Regions from separate parts of the Homo sapiens genome. Here all the other regions are linked to region 3. Evidence: promoter capture Hi-C in 16 types of primary human blood cells and fetal thymus (Javierre and others, 2016). All regions are on one chromosome and are shown on one strand. The core of a region is centred on a gene start or on the middle of the fragment in contact, and the rest is flanking DNA. Distances in the headings are between cores, read along the strand shown. Region 1 holds the start of CFL2 (cofilin 2). Region 2 overlaps HECTD1 (HECT domain E3 ubiquitin protein ligase 1). Region 3 holds the start of PRPF39 (pre-mRNA processing factor 39).

Region 1 (2,700 bases), core at 16-2,515, about 10 Mb before region 3:
ATCATTCAGAGGTAGCAACTTCACAAAAGATGTGTAGGGGTCCTCTACAGTATCACCAATGTCACCCACCAAGATCTGCTTTGCTTCCTCTACAATTATTTGTCTTTTGTCATCGCTTAAACAGAAGAGAACTGCTTTCTTTCTCTTTTTGATCTCCTCTTGTGTAGAAGATTTCCTTACTTTCATATCATTAAAAACTTTGATGACTTCATCATTCACTGTAACTCCAGAAGCCTGAAAATAAACACAGAACAGTAATTCAGAACACGTATTTTGGTTTTAACCAAAATTACTGTTTGCCTAGAGAAGACTCACTTTAGTCTGGACATCAAAAATTGCACCGTACCATGTAAGTCGTCCAATCAGATTTGTCACATTTTAAGAATCAGTAGACGATACAGCGAAGGAGTCTAACTCATCCTGCCCATTCATCCTTCTTAAAGGGGTTTGGACGTGGAAGCGAAAGGGACAAATACAAGTTGTCCCATCCCTGAAATGTTTCCTATTTCACTGGGTGATGTCAGAGCTTCAGGAGTGGCAGCAAAAATACCTTCTGTATTGTGTCAACTCGGCTGGCCTTAAAAAAACACTTTTGGATTTCAGTTAATGCTTCTACTATTTTTTTCTTTAAAGTCATCCTAGCCACTGACGTTTCCTCATAAGGAAAGAGAATCAAGTGTAAACTCCAAACCGCCCACGGCCCACACACAGCTCACATGCAGACACTCCAAAACTAACTGATCGAGTGTAAAAGCTTTTACGGCGAGAAAGCATTTTAAAAAGTGTTTTCCCTCTTCCTTAATCTCCCCGTAAGGGTTTTATTACAGGCCGTCCAGACCCTGACCCACACAGCGTTCGCAGCACGTACCAATTTTAAAGCCTCGCGTGTTAAGTAAAATTAGGAAGCGAAGGGCAAAGGCGGCGCGAGCGGCTGCAGTCCGCAGACCCTCTCGCGCCCCCGCCCGCCCGGCCCCGACCCCCAACCTGCGCCGACGCCCGGGCCCTCCCCGCCCCCCAAAATCCAAAGAGCAGCAGGGCAGGGCCTGACGGCCGGAGGGCAGGCCGGTCGGCTGGAGAGCAGCGGAGCCGCAGAGCAGAAGCGCCCACCTTGGAGGCCAAAATCAGGTTAAAATGGCGGCCTCACTCCCGGGGCCGTGCGGGGGGCTTTTCTCGCCTCGCCGCGGCCTCCCGGCCAGCGCGCTCGTCTTACCATAGTGCCCTCGGCTGTGGCTGCGGCGGCAGCTCGGGCTTCGGCTCTGTGGCACTGGGAGGAGAAGGAGGGGCGGGCGAGCGGGTGGGCAGCGGAGAGTGCGGGGCACGCCGGGAGCTGCAGCCCGAGGGAGGTGGCGGGGCTCGGCGGGCCGCAGGCAGCGGGCGGGGCGGTCACGTGGGCACGCCTGGTCCCCAGCCGGCGCCACCCGCTCCCAGGCCGGCCCTTCTGTCTCGCGGCCCCGGCTCCCCGGCTGTCCGCGTCCTCGGCCTGACCTCAGAGCGCGAGCCCTGCAGGCCGGGGGGGGCGACGCGGTGGTAGCGGAGCCCGGGAGCCTGGCAGAGCCGCCTCCAGCCCCCGAGCATCACCCGTCAAGCCGGTGGGAGAGAGTGCTGGGCTCCCAGAGGGGCGTTTCCACCGCCTCCGTAGGGCCCTGCGCCAGGGGTGGGTGCGTGTGAGGGGAACTCCTGCGAAGGTGTCTTTCCTTATTTACCTGTGGTTTTCCCGAAAGAGGCTGGATTTCGACATTTTGAGTCTTTTTGGAAAACCCCCAGTTGTTTAGAGATAAATGAGAATAAATACTACACGAGATTGCTCCAGTTGATAGTACTTAGCAAAAACAAAATGATACGCAGTGTTGGTAAATCACTTTTCAAAACTCTGGTTGAAATAATAATTATGATTAAAAAATTACGTGGTAGCATTCCTTAGTAATATCCTTTTACATTTTAGACTTCATAGGAAATGGATTGTACTCTCTCTTAGAGATTTCATGAAGCTCCAGCTATGACAGCTGATATCAAATAAGCCGACGCAGCCTCTTCTAGCAAAGCCCATATAACTGCGCCAAGGCAGTTTCTCTTTTTTTAATCTTAACTCCTCCATACCTCAGGGTTCTTCATGTGTAAAACAAACTGTTATTAAATTATCGTTAAGGCCCTTTCCAGCTTTAGATTTCAGTTTCTGAGTATATCAATGTTCAGTAGGAAATGGTGTGTTTTTGGTGGTCTCAGGATTGAGGTTAGGCAGGAAAGTCATGAGATGGTGTTTGCCCTAGATTGCGTGATAAGTTCTTTCAGCCCAAATTTACTGTATTTTAAATGGAACATGCTAGGCATTGAAACAGACCTATTTTTCTGTCTATATCTTGGGTTTGTTTTCTTAATTGGAAGATAGACTTCGTTTAGAGACAAAAATTGAGAAGGGATTTCCCAATGTCTAAGCATGAATCCCAAGCAAGTGGATAATACTTTATATCTAGCTGGTACATTACAATTTATGGAACCTTTCACTTTATCTGTTGAACTTCCAAGAAGTCATGGAGAATGTCTCTCCAGAGCTCTGATCATCTGCTATGTGTAGGTATTAGCAAATTCCTGTTCGCTTCATCTTGCGGTTACCTTCCCTTCCCAACCTCAGAGATTTGCAGCAGCCCCAGCAGAGACCAGGTCTGATGACACTGGGGCCTAAAGTGGGTGTCAGAACCTTAC
Region 2 (2,700 bases), core at 101-2,600, about 14 Mb before region 3:
AAGCATTGCTTGAACCCGGGAGGCAGAGGTTACAGTGAGCCGAGATTGCGCCACTGCACTCCAGCCTACACGACAGAGCAAGACTCCGTCTCAAAACAAAAAAAAAAAAAAGAAAGAAAAGGCAGGTATATTAATGGTAGAAAGTAAGGAAAGTACTTATTGATACTGTATCTGCTAAAAAAAAAAACAAAAAAGAATACAATACTCTTCCTCCTGCATACTAACAACAAGTTTCTCAACTCCACAAATACCTTCCATGGGCATTTTAGGCATTAGGTGGAAAACAGGTCCAATATAAGCAATCTCTTCAATTCACTCCTTCAGTATCTGGATATTAGCTATTTGTGTGCCAGGCACTATGCTTAGCAATGGGAAAACAAAGACGAGCTCGTAGTCCAGTGGAGAACTGAAAGTATAGTAAAGTGGAAGTAGTGTATACATGTGAGAATATGCAGGAGGGGTCTTTGAAGACATTTAAATTTGATCCTGTAGGTGAAGAACCCAACAGATTCTGTAAAAGGGAGTAGCACAGGCAAATCAATTTTTAAGACTATAACTCAGGGCCAGGCACCGTGGCTGGTCTCGAACTCCTGACCTCAACTGATCCACCCACCTCGGCCTCCCAAAGTGCTGGGACTGCAGATAGGCATGAGCCACCACGCCCAGTCCCAGCCCTTAACTTTTTACCATCAAACCCAAAACATGTGCATCTAACGTCTCTATCTTCTCTGTTACAACGGCAGTACACAACTTCTTTCTGCCTAAAACCAATCTCTCCACCAGTGGATCAGGGTTTTGCTACTCAAGGTGGGATTTTCTGACCAACAGTTTCTGCATAATCTAGGACCATATTAGAAATGCAGAATATCAAGCTTCATATAAGACCAACTGAATCAGAATATGCATTTTAACATGATCCCCAGGTGACTCTCATTATGCACATTAAAATTTAAGAAGCACTGCTTCTATACAAAAGCCAATTCTCTCCCAGTTTTTCAGAATCCTTACCCTAGGGATTATTCACTCTCTTTCTTATCTCTTTGACCTTTAAAAGAAAAAACCCCACACTCCTTTTCCAATTCAATTCTTCAAAAAAGTTTCCACATGTCCTCCATTTCATGTTCCACTCACTCCTCAACCCATTCAGATCTGCCCCTCACCACCACTCCACTCAGCTCTCATTAAGATCAATGACCTTGAGAATGTTGCTAAATCTAAAGGACATCTTTTCATCTAACCCCTACTTGACCTCTCACTAGTATTCAAAACAATTGCCCTTTCTCTTCTTGAATCACTTTCTTTCCTGTGTTGACATGCGCACTAATGATGCAAAAGCAATAGTGGATAAAACTGCAGGTGCTTTAACATGAATCAAGGCAGTAGCCCTAACCTGTACTAGATAACTGTATTCTTCACTGCCAAGCACTGGTATTAAGAAAAAAGCCAGTTTCACTAAAGAATAAACTAGATGAAGCAAAATTATTAAATTTACTAAATCTCAACCCCTGAAGATACATCTTTTCAATATTCTACTTAAAGGAAATGGGAATTAATTATAAAGCACTGCATACGGAAGAATAATGGCAAAGTACATACTTGAGGACTGAACTAGCCACTTTTTTCTTGCAACACCATTTTTACTTGAAGGACTATCAGACAAACTGATCATTCAGACTTGGCTATCTGGCAAACATTTTTTCAAAATTTAATCACGTATGCCTTTCATTTCAAGGAAAACGATCAACTGTATTTGTTGCCAATCATAACACTCAACTTTACAAGCAAAAATGACATTTTTGGAAAACTTGTATTTGACACCATGAGCTTGAAAGCTTCTGAATATTTAAAAACTTGTCTGATGAGAGTGGTAGTCATATTGACAAATAAGACTTTTTGGCACTGTGGAATGAGATATGTCCACATTTGGAAAATCTGTGTAACTCAGTGGACTGATATTTTCCACATGACCAATGCATAATTTTTGCAAAAGTAAACATGGGTAAAACAGTCACTCAAAGTATAAGACAGACCATCAGATTTTAATGTAACAGAGTGAGTATAAGTTCACTGATATGATATCAGAATCCACATTATAACTAATCCTGGTAGGGTGCAGTGGCTCATGCCTGTAATCCAGTACTTTGGGAGGCCAAGGCAGGTGCATCACTTGAGGTAAGGAGTTCGAGGCCAGCCTGACCAACATAAAATACTAAAAATAAAAAAAATTATTCCAGTGTGGTTGTCTGCGCCTGTAGTCCCAGCTACTCAGGAGGCTAAGGCGGGAGAACTGCTTGAATCTAGGAGGTGGAGGTTGCAGTGAGCCAAGATCGCACCACTACACTCCAACCTGGGTGCGAGAATCTGCCTCGAAGAAAAAAAAAAAAAAAAAAACAGAATCCACATTATAACTAATCCTTAAGAAACTATCACTTGTTGAATTTTGACATGTTATCAAAGAAGCATATCCATGATTACGTTAAAAAATATAATATTCTTCTTCCCTTTCCCAAATACATCTGTGGATGATTTTTTCATATATTTCAATCAAAATAACATAATGCAACAAACTGAATGCAGAAGCAGATATGAGAATCCAGCTATCTTCCATTAAGGCAGACTTTAAGGAGATTTGCAAAAATGTAAATTAATGCCTCTATTCTCCCAAAATGTTTTCTTTTAAAAAAGTTATTTTTCACAAAA
Region 3 (2,700 bases), core at 191-2,690:
CCTGTGAAACAAACAAACAAAAAACATGGCCACACTGTCAGAGAATCCAAAAAAGTTAGCTTGGAAAGTAGAAGAGGCAAATGGAAAGGGAAAGCTACTACTAGGTGCAGTGTGATGCAAGTAAAAGGTAGGAAAAAAGACTGAATTTGGTATTTCGAACGAAAGGTGCTGGTGAGAGGATTTATGATTAACCTGCGTTGTGACAAGAAACGTCGTCTTGTAAATAAGTATTTCCAGAGGAGACAGATTTCAGATGAGGAACTTGGAGCCCAGTAGTAATACTAATGCACCTGGAACAACAGATTACATGGTAAGTGACAGGTGAATGCGGGGGCACCAATGTAACAGAATCTTAAAGGGAGAGAGGCCAGATTTGAAAGAAAATTTTTTTTTATTAAAGTGGAGATGGTGGTACAACTGAAGAGGACTGCTAAGATTGTTAACGCACAGTCCCCCTCAATTTGTCCAGAGGATAACATATCCCTTCAGATACAAAGATTTTTTTTTTTGCTTGGCCAACTTTAGTCAGGTTTCTGAATCTTCTGCTAGGCTCTTCTGTACACTTTCTTTGTAAAATCCAGTTTAAGCAAAGAACTTTGCTAAGTCAGATTAGCAATAAACCCCCATCCTTGATAGCTGATCATCCTCAATATCTGATCAGGTTCTTCAGTCTCCACCATCCCCCAGGTGATGCCTCATTATCTTGGCCTGTCTTCAGCAAAAATCCTATTAGGTGGGTTTAGCCAAAATCCCCCTTACCCTGATGTTTCCTCTTAGTAATTATACATTCACTTACCACCGCTCCTTGGCTATAAATCTCCACTTGCCCATGCTGTATGAGGAGTTGAGCCCAATATCTCTTTCCCTACTGCAAGTCTCCATTGCAGTCAGTGGTCCCTATACCTGTTGCGATGGTCCTGAATAAAGCCCTCTTTTTGTGCTTTAACAAGTGTCACTAAATACTTTTTTCTTTAACAATAGCCCGTTCTCCAAACCCCTAACTCCAGAACTGTTTAGTTTTCAGGAAACCTGAGTGGGCCCAGGGTCTATACCATCGTGAGATTTGTGGGTTTAAGGCTGAATTTCTGCCCGTTTTTAGGTAAATGTTTTAGTGTGAAAGCTTGAACAATTGTAGGGAAAACCTTAGATTTGCCCCCAAAAATGACATTTTGCCGTTTTTGGTGGGGAGGGGTCAGGGCGCTGTGTTTAAGATCAGGCGTGTGAAAGCCCCTAAACGCCCTCCTTTCCTTTGGGAAGTCCCTATGGAGGGAAAGGCAGGTAGGCGCAGCGGTCCCCGCCCTCGCTCGCGGCGGGGCGGGGCGGGGCTGCGGGGGCGGGGCTGGGGCCGCACGGGCAGCGAGGATCCCTGGGAGGGCCAGGCCTGCGCGCTGCGAACCCACGTGACTTTTTCGCCTCCAGGGACACTGACGCATGCGCATCGTGCCCTGGACCAGGCGGCCGTGGCGCGGGTGGCGGCTGCTGTGCTGGCTGTGGGGACGGAGGCGGTGAAGTGCCATCTTCGGCTAGGTCGTCACAGGCTCCGGCTCATGGCATCAAGTGGCATCCATCATAAGGTCTGCTGGGGCGGGCTCCTTGAAATTAGCTGGGGCAGAGGGTGGTACTTGGTACTGAAAGGGGCCTGCCGGGTTTCAGGCCGCGCTCTGGCCGCGGCCTCCCTCTCCCGCCCTGTTTGAGGCCTGGCTCGGATTCAGCGCTCAGCTGTCCATTCCTTTCTCCTTCCCACCTGTTGGGTGGAGCGGTGCAAGGTATTTTTTTCTTAGACCAAACGTTTCACTTGAGGGGTGCGTTAGGTAGGGTGGAGAAGTGTGGGCCTCCTTCGCCTGGATTTAGGAAGATATTTGGGGGTAATTCTAAAGCCCTTGCTTCTCCCGGAGCTGGAACACGGCTGGGGTGGCTGGAAGTGGAAGGAGCACATTTGCAGCCGCCAGAGGATTGGGAAGATAATATACGTTCTATTACTAAGGCATGTGAGCGCCTTGTAGGGCACGTTCTGTCTTCTGACTACATAAGCAACACTTTTGCGACCCTAAGTCACAGCACCCACAGCTTTTGGCAGGATACTTTAAAACAGAAAAAACACATCATTGATCCTGGCAGGATTTTTTAAGGGATTGTGCTTAAGAATGTTTAACTTTGGTAATCAGAGACCACCACTGGTGTTTTTCTCCAAAATCACATCTTTAAGTTAATTAATACTTGAAGTTAATAAATAATACTGCTCAGTGTATTAGTAATGATGCCATAATACCATGTGAATTTATGCTGATTCAAATGTTGTTTTTTTCGTTTGATACTCATATGGCCTTCTGTTTGAGGACTTCAGATTATTTAGCAACTGATTTAATCTGTTCAGAAATAAACTTTGCTACAGCTGGAAAGCGTGAGGCTTGAGAAAGCAAGTTTTGGACAGGGACGTATGAAGCTCATGTTGAAACTTAAGTGTTTTAGGCTGTATGGGAGCTTGAATGGAGTGAAAAGAACAAGCGTCTACTGTCAGGTTTTCCTCCTCCCTCTAGATTTATAACCTCATTCTAGAGTTGCAAAAGTTGGAACTTTCCACTGTTCACTCTCTAGTAGGGATAAAGTGATGGAAAGGAGTTCTGTTAAAGAGGACTAGTACTTAGATTGTGAACTTTGAAGTAGGGGTTGAGCATAGATGGCTCATAGGTGGTATGAGAC

Evidence for each region. Contacts are between HindIII fragments. The CHiCAGO score rates a contact against its expected background, and 5 or more counts as called.
Region 1: the fragment with the promoter of CFL2 here is called in contact with the fragment with the promoter of PRPF39 in region 3 in 1 of 17 cell types (total B cells); the score reaches 5.2 in total B cells.
Region 2: a fragment that was not itself captured here is called in contact with the fragment with the promoter of PRPF39 in region 3 in 1 of 17 cell types (total B cells); the score reaches 5.7 in total B cells.

The regions. Positions count from the first base shown.
Region 1 is chr14:34,713,328-34,716,027 of GRCh38, forward strand. CFL2 (cofilin 2) reads right to left here and starts at 1,266. Exons shown (of 4, transcript NM_138638.5): 1 at 1,211-1,266; 2 at 1-234. The coding sequence starts at 1,213. RefSeq lists silencers at 963-1,022, 1,113-1,702. The HindIII fragment of the contact is 2,283 bases long and covers 753-2,700 here.
Region 2 is chr14:31,196,662-31,199,361 of GRCh38, forward strand. The region is part of intron 2 of HECTD1 (HECT domain E3 ubiquitin protein ligase 1); the gene reads right to left. Among named protein-coding and RNA genes, the nearest start is that of HECTD1, 9.8 kb to the right of the region's middle. The HindIII fragment of the contact is 960 bases long and covers 871-1,830 here.
Region 3 is chr14:45,082,676-45,085,375 of GRCh38, forward strand. PRPF39 (pre-mRNA processing factor 39) reads left to right here and starts at 1,441. Exons shown (of 14, transcript NM_017922.4): 1 at 1,441-1,574. It overlaps PRPF39-DT (PRPF39 divergent transcript), which reads right to left and starts at 1,351. Exons shown (of 2, transcript NR_184211.1): 1 at 797-1,351; 2 at 373-712. RefSeq lists a silencer at 1,146-1,435. The HindIII fragment of the contact is 5,294 bases long and covers 1,119-2,700 here.